Linked DNA regions of Homo sapiens: region 2 is linked to region 1. Evidence: promoter capture Hi-C in human tissues and cell types (Jung and others, 2019). All regions are on one chromosome and are shown on one strand. The core of a region is centred on a gene start or on the middle of the fragment in contact, and the rest is flanking DNA. Distances in the headings are between cores, read along the strand shown. Region 1 holds the start of SULT1A2 (sulfotransferase family 1A member 2). Region 2 has its middle 7.5 kb from the start of NPIPB8.

Evidence for each region. The method cuts DNA at HindIII sites, captures the fragments that hold promoters and counts their contacts. A contact is called where the count stands out against the background at its distance.
Region 2: a fragment that was not itself captured here is called in contact with the fragment with the promoter of SULT1A2 in region 1 in 1 of the 25 tissues and cell types used here (psoas muscle).

Annotation. Positions count from the first base shown.
Region 1 is chr16:28,595,008-28,600,227 of GRCh38, forward strand. SULT1A2 (sulfotransferase family 1A member 2) reads right to left here and starts at 2,043. Exons shown (of 8, transcript NM_001054.4): 1 at 1,990-2,043; 2 at 776-927; 3 at 543-668; 4 at 360-457. The coding sequence starts at 923. RefSeq lists enhancers at 1,981-2,275, 3,909-4,443, 4,444-4,977. The HindIII fragment of the contact is 13,947 bases long and covers 1-5,220 here.
Region 2 is chr16:28,627,940-28,633,159 of GRCh38, forward strand. No RefSeq gene overlaps it. Among named protein-coding and RNA genes, the nearest start is that of NPIPB8, 7.5 kb to the right of the region's middle. The HindIII fragment of the contact is 3,733 bases long and covers 110-3,842 here.

The sequences.
Region 1 (5,220 bases), core at 793-3,292:
CCTAGTCTCAGGTGATCCACCTGCCTCAGCCTCTTCAAGTGCTGGAATTACAGGTGTGAGCCACCGCACTGGTGGGACACTCTTTCTATTCATCGTTTTTTGAGACAGTGTTTCTCTGTCACCCAGCCTGGAGTGCACTGGTGTGATCATAGCTCACTGTAGCCTTAAACTCCTAGGCTCAGATGATCCTCCCACCTCAGCCTCCTGAGTAGCTGGTATTACAGGCACACACCACTATGCACAGCTAAGTTTTTTTTTTGGAAGAGACTTATCTGGAACTTCTGGCTTCAAGGGATCTTCCCACCTCAGCCTCCCAAAGTACTGAGATTGCGGGTGTGAACCACTGTGCCCAGTCTCACCTTGACCTTCTGATCCAACAGAGTCTGGGGGAGCAGAGCCAGGGGCAGGTGTGTCTTCAGGAGTCGTGGGGCTGGTGTGTTTTTCAGAGTCTCCATCCCTGAGCAGTGGGTCAGGGAAGGTCTGGTGAGCTGAAGCCCCAGCCCTGTCTTCCTCCACTCCCCTTGCACCCAGGACACACACACCTGAGGGAATCCCTGGGACTTTGAACTCAAGGAAGGGCACCCGCATGAAGATGGGAGCTCGGTGACACTTTTCCAGGTCACCGCCCTGGTAGATCATGTCCAGAATCTGGCTCACCCAGGTGGTGCCTGGAGAGGGAGGGAGATGGGAGGTGAGCAGGCTGAGGTGAGCATGACCTCGCTGGCCAAGGTGGGGACTGCCACCTGGGAGAGGGTGGGTGGCCCTCCTCACCTACCGGACTTGGGGTAGGTGCTGATGAGCAGGTCATCAGGCCGGGCCTGGAAGCTCTGCAGGGGCCCCAGTGCCTCTGCAAAGTACTTGATGAGCGGGACCCCCTTCACGTACTCCAGTGGCGGGCGAGAGATGTCCTGGATCAGCTCCATGTTCCTGCGTCAGGGGCCAGAGCCAGGCCCGTTCCCTTACCACCATCACAACAGCAAGAAAGTGGAATTCTTGCTTTCAGGGAAGTCACTGAGGCCTAGGGAGGCTGAGTGACTTGCCCGCACTCACAAGGCCAGTCAGTGGCGGGGCTGGGGCTGAAAACCAGGTCGGGCTCTAATGTGGTGGTTCCCCAGCCTGGCCTCACCTTTCATTCACCTGCGGAGCTGTTCAAAATCCCAGGGCCTGGGCCATGGTGCAGACCAGTGAAAGCACCCTCGTGGCGCGGGGCCCAGATGTCAGGGTGTGTGAAGGTCTCCAGGAGAGTCCAGCTGCACTGAGGAACCTCTAGGACCTTCCTGTGCTGTCTTCCTGCCAGCCAGCGCCCTTTGTCTCACCATTTCCTGCTGGGACCCCCAGCCTCCACCCAGTAGGCTCCTCTCCCCGATGTTCCCCTCCTTGAGCCCCTCGGCCCCTCACATGTGGCAACTCCTAGGCTGGCCAGGCCTGTGATCCACTTGCCCGGCCACAGTCCATCTGGGCTCCAGGACAAACAGCCCATTGAGCAACTGAGCTGGTATTGGGGGCCAGAGCCTGATGTGGGAATGAGCAAAACTGTGATGACTCAGCAAAAGGAGGATCCTGGGCAGGGTGGCTCCCACCTGTAATCCCAGACCCTAGGGAGGCTGAGGCCAGAATTTGGAGACCAATCTGGGCAGCATTGGAAGACCCCATCTCTAAAAATCTTTTAAAAATATTTTTTAAAACTATCCAGGCAGGATGGTGAGGGTCTGTAGTCCTAGCTACTGAGGCAGGAGAATCACTTGAGCCCAGGAATTCAAGGCTGCAGTGGCCAGGATCCCACAGCACTCCAGCCTCGGTGACAGCAAGACCTGGCCTCCCCGGAAAAAAAAAAAAGGAAGGGAGGGGGATTCAGGCCGGCCGGGGTTGTCTGAAATGGGATATCCATGGGGAGAGGGCAGGGATAGCAGAGGCCTCGGCTTCTGGAATGTTGGAGCCACAAGCTGAGCAGGGTGAGGGCGTCCTGGGCCATTCCGGTGTGTCACTCACCTGAGCTCTTGGGAACCTGGCCTTGTGCCCTCCTCGCCCGCAGTGGCTGAGTGTGGGTGTTGTGTGGGGAATGCAGGGGTGTTGTCTGTGCTGAGGGTTTCTTAGGTCAGTGTGGGAGGGATCTGGAGCCGGGGCTGGACTTAGATTTGCTTCCGGAAGGAAGGGGTAGGGTTGGGGGTGGGGGAGCTTCTCTATTACCCTCCTTAGTTTGCCAGCTGGAGACAAGCTTAAAGTGATCTCCAAAGCCACGACTGGGTTTGGTGTGTAGAAAACAGAAGAATGAAAGGGGAAAGGGCCCAATGGTGGGTTTGTTTTTGTGGGTTTTTTTTTTTGAGCTGTCACTGGGCTCCTGACCTGCCCCTGAACTCCAAAAGACAAGCTTTCTCTAATTGACCCAGGCAAGAGAGGGGAGGGATTGGAGGAGAAAGATGGGATAGGCAGGCCCTGGAAAGGTCACCTACCTGCTGGCTCCAGGCCAGTCTTGAAGGTGCCAGGGGTCCTGGCCCAGTGCAACCCACAGGCCTCCAGCAGCCCATGCACTCCAGGCTCTGACCACAAGGCCAGTCTGGAGTGATGCGTGTGGGCAGAGTGAAGGGGCAGGGGTGGAGCAGAGCATGGATCCATAGAACAAGAAAGAACAAGGACACTGCAGTCCCATTGCCCTGGGAGCCAGCCCCAGCTTCATGGCTCCCTGGGGACCTCACAGAACATCGATAGAAGATCCTAGAAGAACCACAGCCCCTGGCAGGTACTTTTCTTTCCATGGGTTTGAAGGAGGCTCCACAGACAGAGGCCAGAGGAGGTTGAGGCTTGGAAGCCACAGGGCCCCGTGGAAGGAGTGCATCCCCCCACCCTCCTCGTTCTTTGTCCTCACTATTTAAAGTCCAGGGTCAAGCTGGGCACGAGACAGGTAAACAACCATCTGAGTAAAGGTGAGTCTCCCAAGCCTTCCCAGGGTTGCGTGAGCTCAGAGGCAAGCGGGGAAAACTGAGGCATGGGATTTCCAGGCAGAGGAGAGGCTGCTCCCCTGCTAGGGCCACAGGCCCCTCCTCCCTCCTCTGTGCCCCTGAGGAATCCCCATGACTGGCAGGTCCTCCGGCTACTAGCTCCACCCCTGCCCTCAGCAACCTTCAGGAGGCCCTCTTGACTGAGACTTTGTATTGCACTCTAGTGAAAACCAGCCGGACCAGCAGGGGGTGGCACAGAAAAGAGGCGAGAATGTGAGATTAATAGAGTGCTAGCAAGACAACAGAAAATCCCAGGCAGCAGTTTCACATGACCAGAAGAAGGAAACTTGAAATAGCTGCATGTGCCAAGGGCCAATAAGTCCCTGAAAAATAGGATGAGGACCAAGCTGGCTGCGACCAACCAGAAGCAACATGGCGCTGTATTTGATGTAGGTTTCACCTAGGATCTCACTGTACAATCAGTAACATATGAAACCGTACACCCACCAGTGCCAAGACGGCTCCAGGAACACCTGTATTTGGGTGTAAATTGTGGCACCACGGTCTTGAGAAATCTTTACCTTTTCCTGGAATCTTCATGAATATACCCCTCTTTAGTTGAAGAAGCCCATAAAGGTCAGCCCCACACCTTGTAGGGCATGAGACACTCTCTTGAGGACCCCCACGTTCCTCTTCTTCAGTGAGTCCCTTTACTCTGCAGGAAATCTGCCTACGTTCATGACTTTTGCACTTGTCCTTAAATTGTTTCTGGCTAAGGTGCCAAGAGCCTGGAGAAGGCCTGGCACGGTGGCTCACTCCTGTAATCCCAGCACTTTGGGAGGCCGAGGCAGGCAGACCACCTGAAGTCGGGAGTTTGAGACCAGCCTGACCAACATGGAGAAACCTTGTCTCTACTAAAAATAGAAAATTAGTCAAGCCTGGTGGCACACGCCTGTAATCCCAGCTACTTGGGAGGCTGAGGCAGGAGAATCGCTTGAACCCGGGAGGCGGAGGTTGCGGTGAGCCAAGATCACGCCATTGCACTCCAGCCTGGGCAACAAGAGTGAAACTCGGTCTCAAAAAAACAAAACAAAACAAAAAAAAGCGTGGAAACGGGCTGAGGTCGATGTCCCACCGGTCTTTGATGACCTCCCCTAGGCCACCAGTATCTGGAGGGGATTAGGGACACTGAGCTCCAGCAGGGCTATCCAGTGTGCCTGCAGAAACAAGGTTGGTCACAGGCAGCCCAGGACAGGGAGTGGGGTAGGGAGGCTGGGGCCAAAGCCCACTCACGTCTTCTAATTCCGAGTCTTCCACTATTTCCCCCGTGCTCATCCATCACAGCCAGATCAGGTCACCCAAAGCAGTGACGCCTCACAGCTACCAAGGCATGGGGCCAGAGAGAGAGACAGAGTCAGGCATCACAAGCCCCCTCCAGGCTCAGCCCTGAATACCAAGATCAGGACACGGCTGCCCCGGCCTGGATTGCACAACTGGGCACCCTCTTCCCAAAGCTGGACCAGGCTGGGGCCGGGGGACTGCACTCAGCTAGGGCATTGGCCCTCTAGGGGCAGAAGCTGCCCTGGTTCTTCCGGAAGGAACTCCTCTCACAGGCAGATCACGTGGGCTCTTAGCCAACAGCCAGGGTTGGGGCAACACAAGGGCCCCGCTTCATCCTGTCCCAGGCAGCAGGCAGGTAAGAGACAAGGAGGGAGAGGCAGCTGGCAGCAACCCCTCTATGCAGCAGGCACTGTTCCGGGCATTACACAGCTCCATCCCGTGAGGCAGAGGTGACTGTTATTTGCATCTTACAGATGAGGAAATGGAGGTGGGGGTTTAAAATCCTTGCCCCTGGGACTAAGCTGGTGCAGGTCCTGGGAGCATCAGCAGTGATTGATTGAGTCACAGCCTCACCACTGCAGCCAGACCTGAACTTCCTCACAGCTCAGCAACACCCAGCAGGTCACTGAATGTCCCCAGGGCAAGTCCTCTACTCACTCACTATTAGCGGGTGCTCAGTAGAAGGCACCCGTTTTCCATTATTTTATTAACTATTTCTTGGCTATCGTCTCTGTGCAGGACTTTGTTCTACAGCAGTGACAAGAGCTGCCCTCGGGCAATGTAGTGCAAAGGTTGGGGTGGGAGAGACTAACGAGAGTCATAAAGCACCTAGCCGGTGAGATAGTAAGTATTCAGGTAAAGAAGCAGACGGGGAAGTACACAAGAGGTGCAATTTTATTTTATATTTTTAGAGACAGTTTCTTGCTCTTTTGCCCAGGCTATA
Region 2 (5,220 bases), core at 726-3,225, 33 kb after region 1:
AGGGAGCTATATAATAGAGGCTGCAGATTCATGGCAGATTCTAAAGCACAGCAGTCCCCAACATTTTTGGCGCCAGGGACCGGCTTTGTGGAAGACAATTTTTCCACAGGCGGCAAGGGATGGGGCGCAGGATGGTAATGGTCTTGGGATGAAACTGTTCCACCACAAATCATCAGGAATTAGATTCTCATAAGGAATATGCAACCTGGATCCCTCGTGTGTGCAACTCACAACAGGGTTCATGCTCCTGTAAGAATCTAATGATGCTGCTGATCTGACAGGAGGCAGAGCTCAGGCAGCAATGCAAGCAATGGGGAGCGGCCAGAAATACAGACGAAGCTTCAATTGTTACCCACCATTCACCTCCTGTTCTGTGGCCCAGTTCCTAACAGGCCACAGACCAGTACATGTCCATGGCCCAGGGGTCAGGGACCCCTGCTGTGGCACATTGCTTAATAGAGGACTGTAGCAGCCATGTGCCCTGACTTTTCCTTTTTTTTTTTTTTTTTTGAGATGCCAGAAACCTAGAATTTTTTTTTTTTTTTTTTTTTTTAAGACAAGGTCTGGCTCTGTTGCCCAGGTTGGAGTGTAGAAGGGCGATCTCAGCTCACTGTGACCTCAACCTCCCAGGCTCAAGCAATCCTCTCACTTCAGCCTCCCACGTTGCTGGGATTACAGGCACACTCCACTACACCCAGCTAATTTTTTTGTATTATTTGTAGACATGGGGTTTCGCCACATTGCCCAGGCTAGTCTGGAATTCCTGAGCTCAAGCTGTCTGCCCATCTCAGCCTCCCAAAGTGCTGGGATTGCAGGAGTGCACCACCACACCTGGCCTGAAACCCAGATTTTATTTATTTATTTATTCATTTTTTGAGATGGAGTCTTGCTCTATTGCCTAAGCTTGAGTGCAGTGGCGTGATCTTGGCTCACTGCAACCTCCACCTCCCTGGTTCAAGTGATTCTCCTGCCTCAGCTTCCTGAGTAGCTGGGATTACAGGCACATGCCACCATGCCTGGCTGATTTTTGTATTTTTAGTAGAGACAGAGTTTCATCATGTTGGCCAGGCTGGTCTCGAACTCCTGACCTCAGGTGATCCACCCACCTTAACCTCCCAAAGTGCTGGGATTACAGGCATGCAACACCACACCCAGCCTGAAACCCAGATTTTTAATATGAAATCGAAGTCTTCAAACCTTGTAGGTGTCATAAAAAGCACGCTGAGGACCACTAGTTTGCAACTGCCAATCTAAAGTATCATAGACATTATATCACTTTAACCATGAAAAAAAAAGTATGTGAGGCAGAAAATGGAAGCAACCATGCCCAATTTATTGTTGAATACTTTTTACGTATACTAAGAGCTTCCTTTGCACTAGCATCTGAAACTATATTCAGAATGACATTGGTTTTCATAAAAGTATTGATCCTCACAACTCTTTATAGTCTTGCACCTAGCACAGCGGAGTGAAACACTTTAAATGGCACTTGTTCCTTGAGTATATATGGAAAAAAGTGAAGTATTGATAAGTGTTCAGCTAATATGAGCAGCATCTCAGGAGTCTCCAATTCTTGAATTACCAGGGAGTATTTTTACCATTTTCCCCCAGTGAAAGGCCTATTTTGAGAGACTTACCCTCCAAAATGAATGCATTAAGTCATATTACTTTTTTTTTTTTCTTTTTGAGACAGGGCCTTGCTCTGTTGCCCAGGCTGGAGTGCAGTGGCATGATAGTTACAGGAAAGGGGTCCCAATCCAGACCCCAAGAGAGGGTTCTTGGATCTTGCACAAGAAAGAATTCAGGGTGATCCCGCAATGTGAATTGAAAGCAAGTTTATTAAGAAAGTAAAGGAGGAGGGGCACGGTGGCTCACGCCTGTAATCCCAGCACTTTGGGAGGCCGAGACAGGTGGATCATGAGGTCAGGAGATCAAGACCATCCTGGTTAACACGGTGAAACCCTGTCTCTACTAAAAATACAAAAAAATTAGCCAAGTGTGGTGGTGGGCGCCTGTAGTCCCAGCTACTCTGGAGGCTGAGGCAGGAGAATGGCGTGAACCCGGGAGGCGAAGCTTGCAGTAAGCCGAGATCATGCCAGTGCACTCCAGCCTGGGTGACAGCGGGAGACTCCATCTCAAAAAAAAAAAAAAAAAAAAAGAAAAAGAAAGTAAAGGAATAAAAGAATGGCTACTCCATAGACAGAGCAGCCATGAGGGCTGCTGGTTGCCCATTTTTATGGTTATTTCTTGATGATATGCTAAACAAGGGGTGGATTTTTCATGCCTCCTCTTTTTAGACCATATAGGATAACTTCTTGATGTTGCCATGGCATTTGTAAACTGTCATGGTGCTGGTAGGAGTGTAGCAGGGAGGATGATGGGAGGTCACTCTTGTCACTATTTTGGTTTTGGTGGGTTTTGGCCAGCTCCTTCACTGCAACCTGTTTTATCAGCAAGGTCTTTATGACTGGTATTTTGTGCTGACCTTCTATGTCATCCTGTGACTTAGAATGCCTTAACCATTAGGGAATGCAGCCCAGTAGTTTCAGCCTCATTTTTCCCAGCTCCTATTTAAGATGGAGTTGCTCTGGTTCACATGCCTCTGACATGATCACTGCTCACTGCAGCCTCCACCTCCTGGGTTCAAGAGATACTCCTGCCTCACCCTCCCAAGGTGCTGGGACTACAGGTGTGTGCCACCACGCTCAGCTAATTTTTGTATTTTTTGTAGAGACGGGGTTTTTCCATGTTGCCCAGGCTGGTCTCAAACTCCTGGGCTCAAGCAATCCTTCTGTCTCAGCCTCCCCAAGTACTGGGATTACAGGCATGTCCCACCATGCCCAGACTAATATTTACTTTTAATCAGACTAAGATAGGGTTACTACTTGAGTTGCTATGGCTCCAGCTGAAAGCCTGTGCAGTCATATCATGGGTAAACATTTGCTTTATGCTAAAAATATGGTGGACCTGGCATTACAGCTATTACAAATCTCCTAAGGTGTCTCAGGTAGTGTATTAGTTACTTTTCATACTGCTATGAAGAAATACTCGAGACTGGGTAATTTATAAAGGAAAAGAGGTTTAATGTACTCACAGTTCCACAAGGCTGGGGAGGCCTCAGAATCATGGTGGAAGGCAAAGAAGGAGCAAAGGTACGTCTTACATGGCTGCAGGAAAGAGAGCACGTGCAGGGAAACTGCCCTTTATAAAACCATCAGATTTAGTGAGATGTATTCACTATCACAAGAACAGTATGGGAAAAACCTGCCCCCATGATTTGATTACCTCCTACCAGGTCCCTCCCACGACACATGGGGATTATGGGAACTACAATTCAAGATGAAATTTGGGTGGGGACGCAGCCAAACCATATCGGGTAGCAACAACCTAGGGTCAGTTTTGCAGGTGGTAAAGCCATTTACCAAGATAGTTGTAGGTAAAGAAGGGCAGATTTATTAGAGAAATTATGAAAATATGTTGCAGTGGGCAGCTCAGCAGAGAAGGGGCTACCTGCAAAGAGGCAGGGGCTGGAGGAAAGTTTTATAGGGTCCTGCTGAAGGGTGCTACGTGTGGAATGAGGTCATTGTGCCCGCAGGTTGTTTGTGATTAGCTGTCTCTAACAATTGTTCATACAGTAATTGTTCATTATTGTTCTCAACTTGGGGCTCTCCCCAACCTGGGGACCCTTCCTTATTGTTGCTTACTTATCAGGACTCCACATAAGGGTGTGGAAACTTCATTCATTCATATCTTCAACACAAATTGTAGGTAGCCTGTTTTTTAAAAAATTTATTCAACAAATATTTAGTCCAAGCCACTGTTACTTATTACCCTCTCTACTTCTGTATGGACTTTTAACTATCTCTGACACTATTCACTATTCTTCCACATTCTCTATTATTTATACCTATGGTAAAATTTGCCAGTTTGACCATGCAACTAATACTCACAGGGAATATATAGAGTCTAGAAGAAAATATACAGGTCCTTAGAGGCTGCTCTGCCAACAAAACCATAATGCAGGAACAAACATCACAACTATGCCAAATAATCAATCCTACAATGTCCAAAATTTTACTTTAAAACTGGAATTTCCAGACTTCCTTTCTGCATTAACCAGTTTAACTAGATAGTAATGAAATATCCCTCTACTTTATGCTGTGATAGTTTATTTATTTATTTGAGACAGAGTTTCGCTCTTGTTGCCCAGGCTGGAGTGCAATGGCGCGATCTCAGCTCACCACAACCTCCGCCTCCCAGGTTCAAGTGATTCTCCTGCCTCAGCCTCCTGAGTAGCTGGGATTACAGGCATGTACCACCACGCCCAGCTAAGTTTGTATTTTTAGTAGAGACGGGAGTTTCTCCATGTTGGTCAGGCTGGTCTAGAACCCCTGAACACAGGTGATACCCCTGCCTCAGCCTCCAAATGTGCTGGGATTACAGGCATGAGCCACCGTGCCTGGCCAGAAAATTTTAAACACACAAACTCTCAGGTGGCCTAATTCCCTCTCACCAAACCAGTCAAAATACAGACAAAAGAGAATAACTATATTAGTTATTGTACAAACAAAAAAGACTGATAAATTGTGAATGATGCATGATTTTTAATTACAAGTAAACTGGGCAAATGCTTCTGCATTGTTTAAAGCTAAAAGGTGATCAGTGGAAACTTTCCTCTGTTAGTACTCTAATACTTTTTATATTTATCGGCTCACTACAACCTGTGCCTACCAGGTTCAAGCGATTCTCCTGTCTCAGCCACCTGAGTAGCCGAGACCACAGGCATGCACTACCATGCCCGGCTAATTTTGTATTTTTAATAGAGACAGGGTTTCACCGTGTTGGCCATGCTGGTCTTGAACTCCTGACCTCAACCGATCCACCTGCCTTGGCCTCCCAAAGTTTTGGGATTACAAGCGTGAGCTACCGCGCCCAGCCTTATTATAATTATTATTTAAATATCTTTTGCTCTCTCCTTCAAGAGAGACCTCATCTCATTCAGTGGCATCCATTTATTTATTCATCTTCTGCCTCCTGGGCTCGAGAGATCCTCCTGCATGAGTCTCCCAAGTAGCTGGGACTACAGGCTCACACCACCATGCTTGGCTAATTTTTGTAGGTTTTGGAGAGACAGGCTCTTGCCATGTTGCCTAGGCTGGTCTCAAACTCCTGGGCTCAGATGATCCACCTGCCTTCGCCTCTCAAAGCACTGGGATTATA